Linked DNA regions of Homo sapiens: regions 2, 3, 4, 5 and 6 are each linked to region 1. The links are contacts of gene promoters, found by promoter capture Hi-C in blood cells and fetal thymus (Javierre and others, 2016). All regions are on one chromosome and are shown on one strand. The core of a region is centred on a gene start or on the middle of the fragment in contact, and the rest is flanking DNA. Distances in the headings are between cores, read along the strand shown. Region 1 holds the start of KIF26B (kinesin family member 26B). Region 2 overlaps SMYD3 (SET and MYND domain containing 3). Region 3 overlaps SMYD3 (SET and MYND domain containing 3). Region 4 overlaps SMYD3 (SET and MYND domain containing 3). Region 5 overlaps SMYD3 (SET and MYND domain containing 3). Region 6 overlaps SMYD3 (SET and MYND domain containing 3).

Region 1 (3,345 bases), core at 601-3,100:
AGCCCCGTGAGGTGTGGAGCATCCCCAGCGCCGCCGGGGGCTCTCGCGTGGAGCCGGCGCGCAAGGTCGCGGCGGGCTGAGCAGCTGCTGTGGGTGGCGGCCCGGCCCCGCCCTCCCGGCGCCTCCCCAGCCAGCCCCGCGCGGCGCTCACCTTGCCCGGGAAGGGCCCCGGGAGGAGCAACCTCAGGGCCTGCCTCTTGAGCTCCACCAGGCGGGCGTTGCAGTTCTCGCACCAGACGCCGCGGTCCGAGCCGGGGGAGGAGCCGCCGCCGCTGCCGGAGCCCGGGGAGCCTGTGCCGAAGCCCGGAGAGCCGCCCAAGGAGCCCGGCGAACTAGTGCCGATGCCGGGGGAGGCGGGTCCCGGGGAGCCGGTGAACGAGCTCGGGGACGAGGTGCCCGAGCCGGGAGACGGGGTCCCCGAGGAGCCGAGCGCTGAGCCCGCGCCCTCAGGAGTGGGCCGGCTGCCGGCGCGCGACTCCTCGTATGCTTTCCGGTACCAGCTTTCCGGGGAGAAGGGCGCTGCGGGCTTGGTGGGCGAGCAGACTTCATTCACCTGCGGGGAAGACACGCCGGTGTCAGGGGCTGCAAGGCGGCGGGCTGCAGCGCCCAGGAGCTGGGTCATACGTGCGCCACCAAGTACCCGCTCGAACCGCCCACGGGAGTCGGTTGGGGACCTCTCCAAGCCCTGCGGCCAAATTGCCCTCCGTCTGTCTCGTTAATTGTCCTTAAGTGAGTCCCCACCGCCCAGGTGACCCCTGCGCTGGTCCCCGGTGGCCTCCTCCTGGGGTCAGGAAGGGGACTCGCTCGGGGCCGTTTCCACGGCTTCTGCAAGGCGGGGGGGATCCATAGGTTCAGCGCCCCACGCTTTTGAAGCCGGCACCTATCCCAGCAAGATCCCGGGAACAAAATCCTGGAAGACCCTATGGGGGGGGTAGGGGGAGGGCTGTGATTTCAGGATTTTTATTCATACGGGGTCCAACTCTCCGGATCCTGCAGGTAAACGAGAGGCTCTCACGGCTCCAGCTAAACGATCCGAGGTACTGCCCAGCATTCATGGGAAACCCTCCCCTTCGGCTTCACTCTGCCTAGAAGTGCAGGAATGCGGCAAAAGTTACGGGTGCGTGGAAAGGAAGGAACGAGAGGGCTGAAAAAATTCCGAGAGCGAGGCGAGCGTGCGGGCGTCCCCGCGGCCGACCCGCCTCCGCGCACTCACAACCCCGCCAGCCCCGGGGGCGCCTCTGCAGCGGGGGAGAGCTCGGGGCCGGGGCCGCACGATCCCGGGGAAAGGGGGACCTCCGCCGAGATGGGTCTGGTAACGCGTCTCCGCGTCGTACCGTCACAACTTACCCCGTATTTCTTGCCCCTGGTGGAGACCGCAAGCCTCTCTTTATTCCCAGCTACCGAATTCATGGTGGCTTTTCCAGAGGAGAGTATCTAAAGGTTCCACCGACGCTACATCCAGAAGGTCCTCCAACCCAGAAGCGTCCCCCGGCTGCAGGGGGCTGGCTCTCAGCCCTCAGGGCAAGGTTTCTTCAGCGGTGGGGTGGGAGGGAATGAAAGCAAATGGATCCCACAAGTAATAGCACCAATTTGCAGAAAGGGTTGGGGTCGCTGGTTTATTCTTCTCTTCAAAGCATGCTTTTCCTCGTCCCCTTCTGCCTCTTCCAGCCGCACGTCCTCTTGTCACGGCCACATCCACAGAACTGGCATTTTCTTCAGCCAAGTCAGTCCGTGCTCCCCCACGAGGAAAGCGAGGGATACAATCAGGGCTCGCGGCCGCTGCCGGGAAGGTGGGAGAGCCGAGCCGAGTCAGCTGTGGGAACTTGTCTCCTTCACCGAGCTTGGTAACTGAGTTCAAAGAAATTCTCCCAAAATATAAAGATCCAGACTCGGGGAGGAGCCTCGGCGTGTCGCCGAGCCAATATCCGCCGGCCCGTTTCGCCTGACAGTTGCGCGAGGGCCGGGAGAGGGGCGGCTCCGCGTGGCCCGGGAGCGGTCGGCGGTCACAGCGCGCGTGTGCGCCCGGGCGCAGCGCGGAGGAGCCTCGGGAACCTGCCGCCCTCGCCGCGCCGGCCGGGATCCATTTTATGTGGCGGCGCTCGTGCCTGACATTGCGAGGCCTGGAGCCGGGCTGGGGCTGGGGGCGGGGGATCGTCGATCTCGCCGCGTGCGGGGAAGTTCCTGGCGCGCGGCCCGGGCCCGGGGCTCTAATGAAACGCCGCTGCGCGAGCCTGGAGCCCGGGGGCCGCGCGAGCGAGCGTGGCTGGACGGAAATGCGGTGCCCCAGCCTCCCCCGCCCCCAAGTTCTTTCTCTTCCTGACAAGGCTTGCAGGTCTGTCTGTGAAACGCCGTGCAAAAGGGATTGAGTCACAAACAAGTCCACAAACATGCCGGGTCCTCCCCCCGCCCTTTGTTCTCGGAGAGCTGCCGGGCAAACCTTTTCTGGAATTGCCCTACCGACCCCGGGCCGGCCGGGGGGCCACCCTCCCCGACCGCAGCCGCAGGACTAGGGCCCTTGGTCCCCCGCCCGCCCGAGCCCCGGTCTGTGATGGACTAAGCCGCCCGGGGCTGGGACAGGTGAGCCTGGTGACCCAGCGGGCCGCTGCCGGGCAGGGGAAACTGAGGGCTTCGCCGCGCTGCACGCGGACGACTCTGGCCTGGAGAGGGGGTGTGGCGCGAGCTGGCCTTGGCCTCTCCTTGCGTGGGATCGGGCCCCTCGCCCCCCGCCGCCCGTTTCTTCCTGCGCCTGGGCCCCGCGGGGTCTCCGGAGCACCCCGTCATCGCTCCCTCTCCGATCGCCCCCCGCCCCAGTCCCCCGGCGCAGCGCCCAGGAGCGCAGGAAGCCGGCGTATGCCAGGCTCCACACGTGGCTGCTCTGGGGTGTCATTTTTCATTTCACGGGAGGACATTTCTTCTGGTGAGCCAGCAGGTCTGTTTTGTTGTGACCTTTAATTAACACCCCGCGAGACGCCTCTGGAAGGACTGGCCGGGCGCAGGGATCACGTGGGGTGTAACGGCATCTCCGCGCCCGCGGGGAGACCCAGCCCGGGGGTGGGCGAGGGCGCGAAGGACGTTCAGGGCTTTCTGGTCGCTGACTTCCTTCTGAGCTGTGGACGACGCAGGAGGGGGCAAGAAGACAAAGGTTCGGGGTTCTGGAAGCCTGGGGCCACGCCCCCACTCTGCCTTCCTCGGGGACAATTTCTTCTGTGCCTCCCGTGCTCTGCCCCACTCCTCCCCGCTCCAGCTCCTGCGCGGGAATATTTCACAGCCACCAAAGCGAGGTAAAAAGGTCAAAAGGAAGATGGCAAGAACAGAGTGGACGTTTCCGTTACGTTCCCACTTCCA
Region 2 (3,345 bases), core at 220-2,719, 940 kb before region 1:
AGTTTGGCAAATGACATTTTAGTTATTTTTGGAGCTGCTTTTCAATATTTTAACATGTGTTTATGTGTAAGCCTGAAAGGATTACAAATGTGTGTGTGTGAGTGTATATACATGTACATATAACTACACATATCTTTCTTTATATAATAATTATGTTTTTGAAAAGTTGAGTATAATAAAATACTTACAATCTAAATACCATTTTAATAGGACAAGGGAAGCTGACTTTCTAAATACAATGTCACATTCTAAGTGATGAACATAATTTTGTTAATGTAAAATTTAGAACAGTATAGATAAAGTGTGTCACTCAGCCTCAAAAAAGTTCTAAGATTTTGTCATCTTCATACATTTATTTTGTAAATGAAATAAAATATTCCAGGGAAATTTGAAAAAAGATTTTTTAAAAATTAAATAATAGCTCCTTGTTTATTGGCTTTAAATATTTAAACATTCAAATTGTAGCCTTTTTCTAAATGCACAAAATACAAAATATTTTCTCCTAAAGTCCATGAATGGTGCCTTTTGGCCTCTCTGAACCCTCTTCACACAGCAGGATTTCGAACGTGTGCTGGACACCAGGAAACTCATGTCATTCCCGCAGGGCTTTGGATTTAGGACTTTCTTAGATTGACAGGGACCGAATATTTGAAATAAACTATTGACATGCAAGAGGCAGATTAATGTGAAGGTTAGTAGTTTTGGAGCTAATTCCATCATCTTTCTTGTTCTTGATTTGCATGTGTGCATTGAATTATGTTGTCTTTTTGGGTGCGGGTATAGATATAGTTTTACCCAATTGATCATTAACTTTTTTGAGGGCATCTATTTGTATCTTGTTTATCTTGATGGAAATAAAATATAAAAATCAGTTTAGTGGTAATTTTTAAATAATTAGACACAGGAAGGAAGAACAGGGTTGCAACAAAAACACTACGACAAAACTAAGGATGGTGGAAAAGCAAGAAGGTAAATTTAATGTAGACGGGTGTCTGTAAAATATAATTGAAACTAAACTTCTGACACCACATAATTTTAATCACAGAAATATACTTGGGAAGGAAATAAATTCTCAAAGAAAACCAACTAGATTTAAGATTGTCACTAAGGAAGGCTGATGCAGGTGCCACACAAAGTGATTTAGGTCTAGGGCCCCGGACACTCCTCTACATCATATTGATATGATAGGTAGCAGGTAGATATCCAAGTCTGAGTTGGTCACGAAGCAGAAGGTATTGTGTGACTTCTCAGGCAGTGGTACAGCCCTCTCGGTGAAAGTACTGGTTGGAAACTGGGGTGGGATTGTGGGGGTTGGAAATTAAAGGTTGGAACAAAGGAATGAGAGGTTTTGGACAGGTCTATCTGAGAACTCTGGAGTACTACAGAGCTTTTGCTTTTCCAGCTAACTCTGACCAAGCCAATATAGTTCGTATACGCATATTGGCAACCACTGGTGACCTTTATTACATGGAAAACATTTTGGCCTGGGAAAGATGGGTAGGCTCTCTCTCCTGGAACCTTGTCTGAGCTGGAACCATCTCGGCATCCTGCTGCTTGCCACATACTTCTGACTTTGCTATCCCTTCAGACGGTTGAATTCACCCAGAGTGAGGCATAGAACAGGGAATCAGCATAGTTTGTAACCCCCTCCCTATTTATTGTTTTCTTAATGTGTGCCAAGCACTGACCTCCTCAGGCTTGGTGCAAGTTAAGGAAACAATAAATGTAAAGGGAATGGATTGCTGTGAAGTCTGTTCCTGGGGAGAAAACATGAGATCAGAATGACGTTTCTTTGTCTGAACAACTATATTTTTCACGTGTTTTGTGCATTTTCCAAATATTTAAGAATCCAAGAAATACTTTGTAATGAAAGAATTTTTAATGACCCTATGCAGAAACTGTAAATTGCATGTCTATGTTGTGAGTTTCTTACTGGATTATAGATTACTGGATTATGTAGGAGAAAATGGAATGAGCACCTACAAATCAACAACTTGGATAAATAATATCTAGAAACTAGCAGGGACTCATCATTTCATTGTCTTTGGTAAGATGGACAGATCATTTGGTGGTTGTTGCACATGTCTTTTCCCATAAACTGTACTTGTTGTCACGTAACTGGAATTAGAGTTACAATGATAACCATTTGTTACAATGATAAACATTTGTTACAATCATAACCATTTGCAAGAACCGTGAATCCTTTTATTCAACAAAAGTTAGTTCTGGTATCTTTTTCATATACATTGCCTGAGGCTCAGAATTGCAATGTATTCTAGTTAGGTCTTTGTGTTTAGGCTCCCAAGTACCCGTATTAATCAGAACATCTAAAAAGCATTCCCATAAGTACAATGGACTGAGATTGCCAGGTGTCTGATGTAGTGCAAAGATTATTGCTGTTTAAAAGATTTTGACCTCAGAGCTTCATTCTTCCCATCGTCATAATTTTCTGAGCGCTGAGGCATTGCAGATCTTGTCTTTCTGTTTATTCAGCTATACTTTTTGCCAGCAAAGAGGCCTGAACAAGTAGGTAATGAGACTGTCTACACAGAGGTTCTGCGAGCCCACAGCTGCCCACTGGCAAGACCCGTTTAGGATTAATATTTCAGATCATCTATTCTGCTTGCTCTGAGATTGATGCGCAAGACACAAAGCAACCTCTAGACACTTCAGCTAAGAATAGGTATTAAGCGTGAATGCATTTGCATATTTGGTGGCAACCTATTCTACATTCTTCCTTAACATTTTTTTCTTGTTTATTAAACAGAGGATGCTTTTGCTTACCTCTCAACTGCAGAAAAGGTACTGTTTGATATATATCGGTTTTATTTACTCTGTTCTCACAGAATTGCACGTGTGCTGTTCATGGGGGAAATATTTTATGTAATTTCCAATAAATATTGAAGAAAATACTATAATCATGGCTTGATAGAAGGTGTCTTTGTATGGATATTTCAAGGGAGTTTTAGTAATGGCCCTGCTCTATGAAAAATAGGAGTTGAAGTTGATGTTCAGGCCATTTCTCCTTTATTTACTGTTCTTGTATTTTTTTGACACAGGGTCTTGCCTGTTGCTTAGGCTGGGGTGTAATGACATAATCACGGATCCCTGCAGCCTCAAGCTCCTGAGCTCAGGCGATGCTCCTGCCTTGGCTTCCTGAGTAGCTGGGACTGTGGCACGTGCCGCCATGCTAGGCTTAGTTTTGAGTTTTTGTACAGACAGAGTCTCACTGTGTTGCTCGGGCTGCTTTTCTCCTTTGAAAGAAAGCAGCTGGGTTTAAGGCCTGGTTATGGCTTGATTGATTTGACTGGTGTTTTTGATGTCAGCCTGCCCTTTCCTTGTGTC
Region 3 (3,345 bases), core at 454-2,953, 870 kb before region 1:
GTGTGCGTATCCCTTTGATTTCCTTTCTTTTGTAAAAAAAAAAAAAAAAAAGAAAGAAAGAAAGGAAACCCAGTGCTGGGATTGCTGGATCCTATGGTAGTTCTCTTTTAGTTTTTTTGTGGAAATGCTGTGCTCTTTTCTACAGTGGCTGTACCTATTTGCATTCCCACCAACAGTGTGTGAGTTCCCTTTTCTCTGCATTTTCACCAGCATGTTATCTTTTCTTTTTTTGATAACAGCCATCCTAACTGTGGTAAGATGATATTTCATTGTGGTTTTGATTCGTATTTCCCTGGTGATTAGTGATGTTGAACATTTTTTCATATATTTGCTGGCCATTTGCATATTTTCTTTTTCTTTTTCTTTCTTTTTTTTTTTTTTTTTCTGAGACAGAGTCTCACTCTGTCAGCCAGGCTGGAGTGCAGTGGTAGGATCTTGGCTCACTGCAACCTCTGTCTCCCGGGCTCAAGCAATTCTCCTGCTTCAGCCTCCTGGGTAGCTGGGATTACAGGCGTGTGTCACCACGCCTGGCTAATTTTTTGTATTTTTAGTAGAGATGGGGTTTCACCATTTTGGCCAGGCTGGTCTGAACTCCTGACCTCAGGTGATCTGCCCGCCTCTGTCTCCCAAGGTGCTGGGATTACAGGCATGAGCCACCGTGCCTGGCCTGCATATTTTCTTTTGAGACATTTCTATTCATATCATTTGCCCACTTTTTAACTGGATTATATTTTGGATATTAATTCCTTGCTGAACATGTAATTTGCAAATATTTATTGCTACAGATTGTCTCTTCAGTCTCTTGATTGTTTTCTTTGCTGTACAGAAACCTTTTAGTTTAATATAGTGCCATTTGTCTATTTTTGTTGGCTGTACTTTTGAGGTCTTAGCCATAAAATATTTGCCTAGACCAATGTCCTGAAGTGTTTTCTTCTAGTAGTTTTATAGTTTTGGGTCCTATGTTCAAATCTTTAATTCATTTTGAGTTTACTTTTGTATACAGTGATAATGGTCTCCTTTCACTCTTCTGCTTTGGATATGGAATCTTCCCAACACCATTTATTGAACAGGGTGTCTTTTCCTCAGTCTGTTTTCTTGACACATTTTACAATTGGTTGGCTGTAAATATGTGAATTTATCTCTAGGTTCTCTATTCTATGCTAATGGTTTGTGTGTTTGTTTTTATACCAGTACCATATGGTTTTGGTTCCTATAGCTTTGTAGCATATTTTGAAGTCAGGTAGTGTGATACTTCCTGTTTTGTTATTTTTGCTCATTATTGCTTTGGCTATTCATGGTCTTTTGTGTTTCCATACAAATTTTAGGATTTAAAAAAATATTTCTGTGAAACATGTGGTTTGGTATTTTGACAGGTATTACATTACATCTGTAGATTGCTTTGGGTAGCATGGTCATCTTAACAATATTAATTCTTCCAATTTATAAGCATGGGACATCTCCATTTGTTTGTATTCTCTTCAGTTTCTACCATCAGTGTTTCATAGTTGTCCTTCTAGAGTTCTCTCTCCTCCTTCAATAAATTTATTGTTAGATACTTTATTTATGTTTTTGTAGCTGTTGTAAGTGGAATTGCTTTTCTAATTTCTTTTTTCACTACTTCGTTATTGATGTATAGTTTTGTATATTGATTTTGTATCTTGCAACTTTACTGAATTCATTTATCAGTTCAAAGAGTTTTTTGGTGGAGTCTTTAGATTTTTCTGTATATAGGATTATGTCATTCACAAAGAGGGACAATTTGACTTCCTTTTTTCCAATTTGGATGCCCTTTGTTTCTTTCTCTTGCCTGGTTGCTCTGACTAGGACTTCCACTACTCATTATTGATTTTTTCAGGTTTTCTCCTTCTTCCTAATTCAATTTTGGTAGGTTGTGTATGTCTAGGATTTATTTCCTTTAGGTTTTTCAGTTTGTCAGCATTGTCAAGATTGTTGTTCGTAACAGTCTCTAATGATCCTTTGTATTTCTGTGGTATCAGTTGTAATGCCTTGTTTTTCATTTCTGATTACTTTCTTCACTGAAGATTTGACCCCCTCAAAGTCATCCATGAGGATTGGAATCAACCTTCCAAACTCTTGTTAATGTTGATATTTTGATCTCCTTCTATGAAGTATGAGTGTTCCTAATGGTGTCTGGAATAGTGAATCCTTTCCAGAAGGTTTTCAATTTACTGTCCCCAGATCCATCAGAAGAATCAATATTGATGGCAGCTATAGCCTTACAAAATGTATTTCTTAAATAATAAGACTTGAAAGTTGAATTACTCCTTGATCCATGGGCTGAAGACTAGATTTTGTGTTAGTAGGCAAGAAAACAGCATTCGTCTTCTTGTACATCTCCATCGGAGCTCTTGGATGACTAGGTGCGTTGTCAATCAACAGTAATGTTTTCAAAGCAATCTTATTCCTGAGCAGTAGGTCACAAGAATGGACTTCAGATATTCAGTAAACTATGCTTAAAAACAGATATGCTGTCACCCAGGCTTTGTTATTACATTGGTAGAACATGGGCAGTACAGATTTACCACAGTTCTTAAGGGCTGTAGGATTTTTTAAATGGTAAATGAACATTTGCTTCAACTTAAAGTCACCAGCTGGCATTAGACCCTAACAAGAGAGTCATTCTGTCTTTTGAAGTTTTGAAGCAAAGCATTGACCTCTCCTCTAGTTATGGAAGTCTTAGATGGTATCTCATCCCAATATAAGGCGGTTTCATCTACACTGAAAGTCTGCTTTTCCTTGTTGCCACCCTCATCAGTCATCTCAGCTAGATCTTCTTGATAACTTGCTGCAACGTCACCTTGCAGTTTTAAGTTACGGAGATGGCTTCTTTCCTTAAACCTCATGAACCAACCTCTGCTACTTTCCACCGTTTCTTCTGTCGTTTCTCACCTCTCTCAGCCTTTATAGAATTTAAGCAAGTTAGGGCTTTCCTCTGGATTAGGCTTTGGCTTAAGGGAATATTGTGGCTTATTTGATCTTCTGTCCAGATCACTCAGACTTTCTCCCTATCAGCAATAAGGCTGTCTCACTTTCTGATTATTTGTGTGTTCACTGGAGTAGCACTTTTAATTTCCCTCAAGAGTGTTTCTTTTGCATTTACAAGTTGGCTAACTGTTTTGTGCAACACATGTGTCTTTCAGTTTATCTTAGTTCTCGACATGTCTTCCTCACTGAGCTTCATCATTTCTAGCTCTTGAATCACAGCGAGAGATGTGCAACTCCTCCTTTCACGTGAACACTTAGAGGCCATTGTAAGGTTACTAACTGGGCTAATTTCAGTATTATTGTGTCTCAGGGATATGGAGGCCTGAGGAGAGGGAGAGA
Region 4 (3,345 bases), core at 534-3,033, 740 kb before region 1:
AATGGTAGCCATTATTATTATTGAATGATCTGGGGAAATAGTCTATTTGGGAGGTTCCAAGAAATACAGCATCCTCAGTTCCCATCATTTGCTGATCAGAGTCTCTGAATTGTTCACATAATTTTCTTAACAGTTTTTTAACTCCTCCTGTTCCAATTTTTAGTTGTCTCTGCTTTCTTCCCCCTTTTTTTGTGCCTAGTGCCTCTTGTTTGGTTTGGTTCCAGTGGTCACTGTGCTGGGGTGGTTGGTGTTTTTCTTTCTTTCTTTTTTCTGTTTTGAGACAGGGCGTCACTCTTTCGCCCAGGCTGAAGTGCAGTGGTGTGTTCATGGCTCACTCCTGGGCTCAGGCAATCCTCCCATGTCAGCCTCCTCAGTAGCTGGGGCTACAGGCGTGTGCCACCATGCCCTGCTAATTTTTAAAAATATTTTTGTAGAGATGGAGTCTCACTGTATTGCCCAGGCTAGTCTTCAGCTTCTGGGATCAAGCAGTCCTCCTGCCTCTGCCTCCCAAACTGTTGGGATTACAGGTGTGAGCCACCATGCTCAGCTCAGCTTGTTTTTCATTCTTGTATTCTTCCTGGCTTGCTCCCCTGCACTTCCTAACCTGGGCTCTCCTTCCAGAAGTAAGCTGACCTTTGTCCAGACTTAGGGGGCATATCACTGTCCTTCATCACTACTCGTGCTGTCCTCTTCACCCCTACAGTTCCCGACATTGCTGTCACTGAGGGGGTGTACATAGCAGAAGGAAGGGAAGTACAGCTGAGTAAGAAGACAGCATGAGTGGCACTGCACAGAGTCACATCCAGGTCATTGCTCCCCTCCCCCCAGATTCCTGGACAAAGTGGATGTCATCCTGGGCTGTCTCTGCAGTTTATTTCCCAAGAGACCAATCCTCTTTTGTAAACATTATTTATTTTTGTATTTTTAAATTTTGAATGTTTATGGCTACAGAGTAGGCGTGTATATTTATGGGTACATGAGATAAATATTTTGATACTGTCATACAATGTGTAATAATCATGTTAGGATAAATGGGGTATCCATTGCCTCAAGCATTTATCATTTCTTTTGTGGTACAAATATTCCAATTATATTTCTTCAGTAATTTTTAAATGTACAGTAAATTATTGTAGACTCTGGTCACCCTGTTGTATCAAATAGTAGATGTTATTCATTCTATCTGATTATATTTTTGTACCCATTAACCATCCCCCGTTCCCTCCCTTGCCCACTACCTTCCCAGGCTCTGGTAACCATCATTCTACTCTCTATCTCCATGAGTTAAATTCTTTTAATTTTTAGCTCCTACAAATTAGTGAGAACATGTGAAGTTGGTCTTTCTGTGTCTGGCTAGTTTAATTGAACACAATGTCCTCCCATTCCATCCTTGCTGTTGCAAGTGATAGGATCTCATTCTTGTTTATGGCTGACTAGTACTCCATTGTGTATATGTACCATGTTTTCTTTATTCATCTATCAACAGACACTCAGGTTGCTTCCAAAGCTTAGCTATTGTGAATAGTAGTGCAATAAACATGGGCGTGCAGATACCTCTTCGATATACTGATTTCCTTTCATTTGCGTATATACCTACCAGTGAGATTGCTGGATCAATGGTAGTTCTATTTTAGTTTTTCGAGGACCCTTCATACAGTTTTCCATAGTAGATGTACTAATTTACATTCCCAACAATAGTGTGCGAGGGTTCCCTTTTTTTCCACATCTTTGTCAGCATATGTTACTCCCTATCTTTTGGATCAAAGCCATTTTAACTGTGGTGAGATGATATCTCATTGTAGTTTTGATTTGCATTTCTTTGATGATGCGGGATGTTCTTATACCTGTTCACCATTTGTATGTCGTCTTTTGAGAAATGTTTATTTAGATCTTTTGCCCAGATTGTTAGATTGTTAGATTTTTTTCCTTATTCAGTTGTTTGAAGTCCTTATATATATCCTAGTTATTGATTCCTTGTCAGATGGGTAGTTTGCAGATATTTTCACCCATTCTGTGGGTTGTCTCTTTACTTTGTTCATTGTTTTCTTTGCTGTGTAGAAGCTTTTAACTTGATGTGATCCCATTTGTCCATTTTTGTTTTGGTTGCCTGTGCTTTTGGGATGTTACTCAAGAAATCTTTGCCCACACCAATGTCCTGGAGAGTTTCCCCAGTGTTTTCTTTTAGTAGTTTCGTAGTTTGAGGGTCTTAAATTTAAGTCGTTAATCCATCTTGGTTAATTGTTTTATATAGTGAGAGATAGAAATCTAGTTTCATTCTTCTGCACATCCAGTTTTCCCGGCACCATTTATTGAAGACTATCCTTCCCCCAGTGTATGTTCTTGGCACCTTTGTCAAAAATGAGTTCACTGCAGATGTATGGATTTAATTCTGGATTCTCTATTTCTTTCCATTGGTCTGTGTGTCTGTTTTTATGCCAGTACCATGCTGTTTTGGTTACTATAGCTCTGTAGTATAATTTGAAGTCAGGTAATGTGATTCCTTCAGTTTTGTTCTTTTTGCTCAGAATGGCTTTGGCTATTCTGGACCTTTTGTGGTTCCATATAAATTTGGGGATTAGTTTTTCTGTTTCTGTGAAGAATGTCATTGGTATTTTGAGAGGGATTGCATTGATGCCTCTTTCAGAATTTGCCATGTAAGAATTATTGTTCTTTTCTGAGTAAGACCACATTTGGAATCTCACAATGAAACAAATAATAAAATGCCTTGGGACAGAGACCAGACAAGGCTTCTATTGACATTTATTCCTTCATTACAGTAGGTGTTGGAGGTCACCCACACTTTGACCCTAAGTCTGAAAACAGACCTCTTCAGTGGTCACAGAAACTTCAGGGCTGCAGGGTTGGTGGAGAGTAGCTCACTCTGCAGTGGGTGTGGGCAGCTGTGGGCTCTGATTAAAACATGTAGTTGGCCCCTCCAGTGTCAATGGGAAGGATGTCCTAGAAGGAGAAAAAGGTATTCTAGTCACTTCTGTTATCTCACTCTCTATAGAAATTAAGAGAACATGGTGCCATGCAAAAATAACCTATTTATTTTTCTCAAAAAGTACATTTTCCCCTTATCTGTTAATCGGGCTCAACAGTGAACTTGAAGGCTTATGCTTTTGGTCCATAGTACATGCTCAAAGCCTTTAAAACATGACATGTTTGACCTTACCTAACTTTGGAGTTCTATAGGTCTCTGCCACACAAAGTTCCACTAACAGCTCACTGTTGGGATATGGAAAGAGGTTAAATTTCACAATAACTATCTTGGGGCTCACTATTTATATAGTCATTAACTGCGCCCTCTAGTGACATTGCATCCTTGGAAGAATGAAGCTGGGGAAT
Region 5 (3,345 bases), core at 215-2,714, 720 kb before region 1:
AAAAATGCAGACATGTGCTTTCTGTTGGCGTGCCAGGAAGCGGCTCGCCGTGCCGTCAGCCAGCACTTCACTTCCATGGCTGCAGAGCTGCTTGCAGGAGCGTCTAAGTCCTGGTGATTTTGTGTAGTCTGTCTCATGGATACGAGGTGAGGCACAAAAGAGCTGTACCATGGAATCTGGTCACCCCTCTCTCCTCCCAAACTTTACAAAGTAGTGTTCTCCTCACCAGACCTTTAGGCCAAGTGACTGCCCTCTGGGGTGACCCACCCTCCAGCTTCAAGGGACAGATCTCTGTATGGATTGATTCACAGACTACAGACTTTTCTTTTTTTGTTTTAGAATAATTGGAGGAACACTGGCTTTTTTTCCAGTGAGATACAAAATACAATTCTAGAATTTTTTTTTAAAGGCTGAGAGATTAAAGTAATTTCTTTCCCTCGAACAGCGACATGTTTCTTTTGAACTTTTGGCTTGTGTGACACATGGTCTAAGGATTTCAGTGCTGCCTTATGAAGTGTTTGTAGAACGGGATAATTTCTGCAGCCCAACTCTGAAGACTTAGGGGACGCTATGGAACCCTCCATTAACTGATGTTAAGAGAGAGGTTCTAATGTCAAAATAAATCATTTCTTTAGATGACCCGTAAGATTGCCTCCTAAAAAGCTATGTCTAGACTTGTGTCTCAGGGACTTGTTATGTGAAGCTGTCATTGTGGACCCCAGCTAAACTATTCCTTTAATTCAGAACCACAGATTAGATAATCTGATGTGCTCGCTTTAGCAGATAAGCAAATACCATGTTTACCCAAGCTTGGAATATTGCCTGTTATAATCATTATACATACAAATGTTAGAGGGAATGTGTGAATTAAATAACCATTGTCAAATTCTTGGTTTGGCAGAAGGTAGTACCATGTTGAGTGTTGTCTTCAGTCCTGTAGACTCTCTGTGCTATGGCTGGGGTTGTTTATACTTGAGAAAACTCAGTTTAAAATAGAATGAAGGAGGGACAAATCAGAACAAAGGCATTTACAATTTGTTGCACAATCACAAACCCCAGCAACCTTCCTATCAGAATTTCAGGTCTGTTTTCATGGACAACATATACTTTACACATAGGCGACTAATGGAGTGGAAGGATTAGTTTCCATGTCAGTGGTAACCCTAATGTAGTTCTCACCTGGGCAAGCGGAGCCAGGAGGCACTGTTAGACTCTAGGCCTCACAGCTGGCCAGTGGCAGAGCTGGTACCAGGGCCCGGCCTCCTTAGTTCCACTTCCGTAGTGCTGCCTGTCACACAGTCTTACATGCCAACAGCACAGAACCCAAATCAAGCTATCATTCATCCCATGTCTGAATGTCTCTGGAGTGGCCACATCTAGGTTATCCTATAACCTTCGCCTTCGGGACACTGCCCTTTAAACCTCACTTGAATCTGTTCTGCGGCAGCTTAAAGCATTTTTATCTCTGTTGGCAGAGGAGAATGAGAGCATCTGTCCTCAAAGAAGAAAATACAAAAGATGGAGATGTGGCCGATTAAAGGAGATGAGGGCTGCAGCTTTGGTCTTCATTAAGACAAAACTCACCCTGAACTTTGGAGGTGTACTTTATCTTAATGGCTATTGTCAGGAGAACAATTTTCCTGTAAAATCTTTGCATTTTTCCCAGAATCTCAAACCTCCCACCTGGTAGCGTTTACACAACAGTATTGGCAGGACTTGGGTAGGAGTTGTGAGTATGGGCTTACAGCAGCCTAAGCCATCCATTTGGTAGTCTCTCTACAGATGTGAAAAGAATTTGTCTGAATGTGCATTTGCAAGTGGAGCTCATAGCCCTCTGTGTCATCTAATCCCCATTATATGTTATTACATCAGGAACATACCTTTCCAGTATGGGGGGAGGGTGCAAGCAAGTGTCTCCTTCCTAAATGTATTCATGTGTGTTTAACTGCCTTGTATATCAGCCCATCATGCTAGTTTTCTACAAAATGCTTTTCTACAGAAGGCTCATTTTTAGCAAGCACCACTGACAAGAGGTAGGCTCTCAAACTGCCCTCAACGTGTAGATGCTGTTTTTATTCTCTCCAGGTTGACTTGATTTTATATAAGCAAATAAGCTTATTTCTCTGAGAAGCAGTTTTATTCACTGGGATGGGAACAACCCCACACAGAGGGAGGGGAGGTGTTGAGGCTGTAGCCGGAAAAGGCCTTTGGTGGTTCTAGAAGTTCTGACTTCATACCTTCAAGGCTGTGCTCCGTTTCCCAGAAGCTATGAAGGGAATATCCCCTTCCTTCTGGCAATTCTGTGTAGCTGGAGATTGAACCTTGAAATCGCAGTTGGTTTGAATGTGTGGTTTGTGGAAATTTGTAGTTGCAGGAGAGCCCTGTTTCTGCCTGAGATCTAAAGCTAAATGGGCATTTGGCAAATGCTGGCAGCGACGGTGGGAATGTAAAGTGAAATGGAACAGAGCTGCCAGTGGCTTCAGCTGTTTGATGACTTCTTCTCCTCACCACGAGCATTTTTGTTTGGATTGGGCTCACAGCCCCTGGTTGCCCAAGTGCTCCTCAGTTGGATCCAAGGGAGTGACGGGGCTGCCCGACGGGAGAAGGCTCTCTCATCTGAGAAGAGGACATCCATCCTGGGGTCGGCCAGCTCAGGGAGGCCGGTGAAGGAGAAGGCGGCAGGAACTCTGGGCTCTCTCATCTGAGAAGAGGACATCCATCCTGGGGTCGGCCAGCTCAGGAGATGGGTGAAGCAGCAGGAGGCGGGAACTTTGGGCTCTTGCGAGGATGCAAGCAGCTGCTTGGACTCACAATTCAGAGCCCTGCTACATCCTGCTTGTGGACATCTGTTAAAGGCACTGAGATCCCACAATTTCATGAAATAGATGAAAAAATAACCTTTTAAAGCCAATTTTACTTCACCTGTGGGCTGATGACAGCATCTGGAAGACATGCTTTTCATCTGCATCACAGTTACGCTCATTGCCGCCAGGCAGTAGAGCAAGCATCATGAAAGCCAGTGGGAAGTGCACAGGGATTGTGCCTGTGGATGTCAGAGGCTGTTTGGTGTGGTTTGTGGTGGATCAGAGAAGTTTGCTTGGATGACTACGTTGAGGAAGAGCCTTCCCGGCAAAGGGAATGGGATGTGCAGAGATGTGGGGTCACAGCATAGTTGGTTGTTGATTACATTGTAATGTGCTCCCTCCTCCACCATTTTTTTCTTTCCCACCAAACAAAGCTGACTCTAGTCAGCCTCCTGTTGGTCCCCGCCCTGTAGGGTGGGGATTGAAAACTCAGGCCACTGTGACATTTAGGACGTAAGTAACTCTAGAGGGTGCAGAGGAA
Region 6 (3,345 bases), core at 416-2,915, 640 kb before region 1:
GGGCTCAGGGACTGCAGACCAGCTCGACACAGGCACTACTGGGTGATGGCGCAGGCCAGGCTAAGGAGCTGGGTAGGAGTGAGCTCGCCTGCAGCAGCTCAGTGCAGAATCCTCTGTGCTTTCCTGGAATATGAAATAGCCAGTAATAGCCAAGAGTTGCATATTTTAAAAAAAAAAATAAGAATGTTTCTACTTTCTAGACAGTGATTCATTTACATTGGGACACACTGGACGTTGATGCCGAATGAGCAAATGAACAAGGCTTTATCTGGTTTCTGTACCTCAACCCAAAATTCTCACGTACTGAGCATCCTCAAACCCATATTGTGAAAAGCTTTGTAGCTTTTGAAAATAAAATTCCCTAGAACACATAAGAAGCAGACCACAAGCAATGAGCCTCGCTGGTGTCTTGATCCACCTTTTTTTTTTTTTTTTTTTTGGAACCCGGAAGCAATTGAGAGGACATGTCTTGGCATAGCTTTGAAAACCGGCCAGTAGGGGGCGTCTGCAGTGGACCTGAAATCTCCTTAGAGTTGGCCGTTTCTTTTTCTTTTCTTTTCTTTTCTTTATATCTATCTATCTATCTATATATAATTATACTTTAAGTTCTAGGGTACATGTGCACAACGTGCAGGTTTGTTACATATGTATACATGTGCCATGTTGGTGTGCTGCACCCATTAACTTGTCATTTACATTAGGTATATCTCCTAATGCTATCCTACCCCCTCCCCCCACCCCACCACAGGCCCCAGTGTGTGATGTTCCCCTTCCTGTGTCCAAGCGTTCTCATTGTTCAGTTCCCACCTATCAGTGAGAACATGTGGTGTTTGGTTTTTTGTCCTTGTGATAGTTTGTTGAGAATGATGGTTTCCAGCTTCATCCATGTCCCTACAAAGGACATGAAATATCCTTTTTTGTGGCTGCATAGTATTCCATGGTGTATATATGCCACATTTTCTTAATCCAGTCTATCATTGTTGGACATTTGGGTTGGTTCCAAGTCTTTGCTATTGTGAGTACTGCTGCAATAAACATACGTGTGCATGTGTCTTTATAGCAGCATGATTGATATTCCTTTGGGTATGGACCTGAAGTAAAGCCCTGTTCAAAGGAAAACATTCACCAAATCCCCTCATATTCTGTATCTCACAATTTGGTACTTGAATAGAAAGTGCCTTGTAGTAACTATTCTTGAAAACTTTGTATTTACACTACCAAAGAAGCAATTTCCTCTATAGCCTGATTCTTGAGTACACTAACCGGTACAGATATGTCTCCTCCTGTCCTTCCAAATTCATTATTTCATAGGTGTTTTGCACCTTAAGTCATGGCCTTTCGTTTTTGACAGACTAATTGGAATTGTGATGCTTTCTGCAGAGCCAGTGGGAGAAAGAGAAAAAAATGCTGAGCCTTCCCAGCTTCAACAGGTGGTTGCAGTATGTTTGGAGCTAATAGAATGGAGCAGTGATCTAGCTGTCCTAAAAGAGCTAACTGCAGATGCGGAGACTATGGCTGTGGAGTGGAGTCTTGATGACACTCTGCTCTCCTCCACACTCACATGAGAATATGCAAGAGTTTTGTGCGTATCAAATTTCATTGATCTGGCCTCACTGATTTTGAATTTATGGTACTGTAGAGAGAGAGCTGATACTCACATTTCCAGTGTCTGTAGATGGAAAAAAATTGTTTCCTGTGAAAATCATAAATATGTAGGAAATTATAGGGGAAATGCTAGCCCATTCATGCTGCCTTTACAGCATGCTATCCCCGCTAAAAAGATAGTTGATCATAGACAGTTCTTTACTGTTCATTAAAGTAGGTCCTGGCAGGGTCTCTATTTGGCAGTGTCCTGTAAACCATTACTCTGTGCTGTTGTACAGGGTTACAAGAAATCAGTCTCCATTTTATTAAAAAAAAAATCTAGAATTCCAAATCTCCATTAATTTGGATGTTTCATCATCCCAATTCGTCCCAATAAGGTTTTATTATATTTTATTTTTGATAAAATATTGAAACAAGAGACTATTTGATTATTGGACATAATACCTTAAGTTCCAGGTAATTTCATCATCTGAGTCCTGAAAAGAAACTCAGACTTCCCAACCCAAGAAGTCTGCTGTCTTTCACATTGGGCCATACCTGTACATATCCTTGACCTTTATATTTGTAGGCAGCACCACTGTCAATGTTAGTGGTGTAGGTACATCTTACCAAAAAGAAGTGTGGCCTGTAAGCTGTGGTTTGGGCGATCTTGTGACTGTTTGCAACTTTGCTCTGAAGACAACTAACTGGATCCAATTAATAAACAATTGGGAGATAGGGTTACTAAGATAGAGTGATCAGAAAAGTGCCTTCTGAGACTGTATTTAAGCTGAAATTAAAAGGCTGAGAATAGTATTTAGGGAGAGAGACTGTATTTAAGCTGAAATTAAAAGGCCGAGAATAGTATTTAGGGAGAGAGGGGACAAGAGCGTTCAGTGCTTGGCTCTTTCTCTTCATGCATGTGTCTGGTCTTGAGGTGGGAGAAATCTTGATTGACCAGAGAACTGAAGAGATAGCAAAGGAGGTGACTGGAGCGCATGGGCCCGTGGCATGAGGTGAGGTTGTAGAGAAAGTCAGGGAACTCCTTGGTGAGCTGGCATGGTTAGATCATGCTTTAGGCCACAAGAGACAAAATATAACAATGGGAAATTAAAAAGATATAGCTAGGCTCAAAGCGAGTGAATCTGAAAAAGAAGAGAAATGCAAAGAAGTGATGGAGCTGAAGCCACTGGCTACCTGGCTCTCGGATAAAGGAGGCAAAATGGCTGGGAATTTGGCTCCTGGAATGTAACAGGGACTAGATATGTACTCTGTGAAATGGGAAGTGGAGTCAGGCTCACTACTGAAAACCGGGGATGTTGATAAATGAGAGAGGACATCCTCACTATGATGGGAGGCTGATAAAAGTAACTGCTGACCTATGCCTGGAATGATGGTCGACATGAAGCTTGTGAGTCTATGGAGGTATAAGATCCCAGACACAGGATCCTGACCAGGGCCTGAGCCAAGCCACCTGCTGGTTCAGTGACTGGATTTGCAATGTCCCTATCACTGGGGATAGGATCCTTGAGCTAGCATTTAAGATCCTGTTCAAGATGAGGGCGTAGGCACTTGTGGGGGTAGGATGCAAATGGAGACAGGGACAGAGACAGATGGGAGAGAACCTGCCACTGAAATGAACATGCACACCTAAATGCCAAAACACATAAAGAAATAGAGCATCAAAAAGAGAACCACTGAGATTCACAATCAGAAATTCACTCCATATGGAAATAAAATTATAGAATAAAAGTTTTCAAT

What was found. Contacts are between HindIII fragments. The CHiCAGO score rates a contact against its expected background, and 5 or more counts as called.
Region 2: a fragment that was not itself captured here is called in contact with the fragment with the promoter of KIF26B in region 1 in 1 of 17 cell types (naive B cells); the score reaches 5.2 in naive B cells.
Region 3: a contact is called between a fragment that was not itself captured here and the fragment with the promoter of KIF26B in region 1, in 3 of 17 cell types (naive B cells, total B cells and total CD4 T cells). The highest score is 6.1, in naive B cells.
Region 4: a contact is called between a fragment that was not itself captured here and the fragment with the promoter of KIF26B in region 1, in 6 of 17 cell types (endothelial precursors, total CD8 T cells, naive CD4 T cells and 3 more). The highest score is 9.0, in endothelial precursors.
Region 5: a fragment that was not itself captured here is called in contact with the fragment with the promoter of KIF26B in region 1 in 1 of 17 cell types (endothelial precursors); the score reaches 6.0 in endothelial precursors.
Region 6: a contact is called between a fragment that was not itself captured here and the fragment with the promoter of KIF26B in region 1, in 1 of 17 cell types (M2 macrophages). The highest score is 5.9, in M2 macrophages.

The regions. Positions count from the first base shown.
Region 1 is chr1:245,153,490-245,156,834 of GRCh38, reverse strand. It overlaps KIF26B (kinesin family member 26B), which reads right to left and starts at 1,850. Exons shown (of 15, transcript NM_018012.4): 1 at 1,348-1,850; 2 at 152-553. The coding sequence starts at 1,410. RefSeq lists silencers at 1-441, 2,309-2,508 and enhancers at 2,363-3,038, 3,039-3,345. The HindIII fragment of the contact is 4,692 bases long and covers 1-3,345 here.
Region 2 is chr1:246,095,582-246,098,926 of GRCh38, reverse strand. All of the region lies in intron 5 of SMYD3 (SET and MYND domain containing 3), which reads left to right. Among named protein-coding and RNA genes, the nearest start is that of SMYD3-AS1, 11 kb to the left of the region's middle. The HindIII fragment of the contact is 3,993 bases long and covers 1-3,345 here.
Region 3 is chr1:246,026,713-246,030,057 of GRCh38, reverse strand. All of the region lies in intron 5 of SMYD3 (SET and MYND domain containing 3), which reads left to right. Among named protein-coding and RNA genes, the nearest start is that of SMYD3-AS1, 80 kb to the left of the region's middle. The HindIII fragment of the contact is 5,377 bases long and covers 1-3,345 here.
Region 4 is chr1:245,888,965-245,892,309 of GRCh38, reverse strand. The region is part of intron 8 of SMYD3 (SET and MYND domain containing 3); the gene reads left to right. Among named protein-coding and RNA genes, the nearest start is that of SMYD3-AS1, 220 kb to the left of the region's middle. The HindIII fragment of the contact is 554 bases long and covers 1,507-2,060 here.
Region 5 is chr1:245,871,767-245,875,111 of GRCh38, reverse strand. All of the region lies in intron 8 of SMYD3 (SET and MYND domain containing 3), which reads left to right. Among named protein-coding and RNA genes, the nearest start is that of SMYD3-AS1, 240 kb to the left of the region's middle. The HindIII fragment of the contact is 1,305 bases long and covers 812-2,116 here.
Region 6 is chr1:245,794,923-245,798,267 of GRCh38, reverse strand. The region is part of intron 10 of SMYD3 (SET and MYND domain containing 3); the gene reads left to right. Among named protein-coding and RNA genes, the nearest start is that of SMYD3-AS1, 310 kb to the left of the region's middle. The HindIII fragment of the contact is 2,658 bases long and covers 337-2,994 here.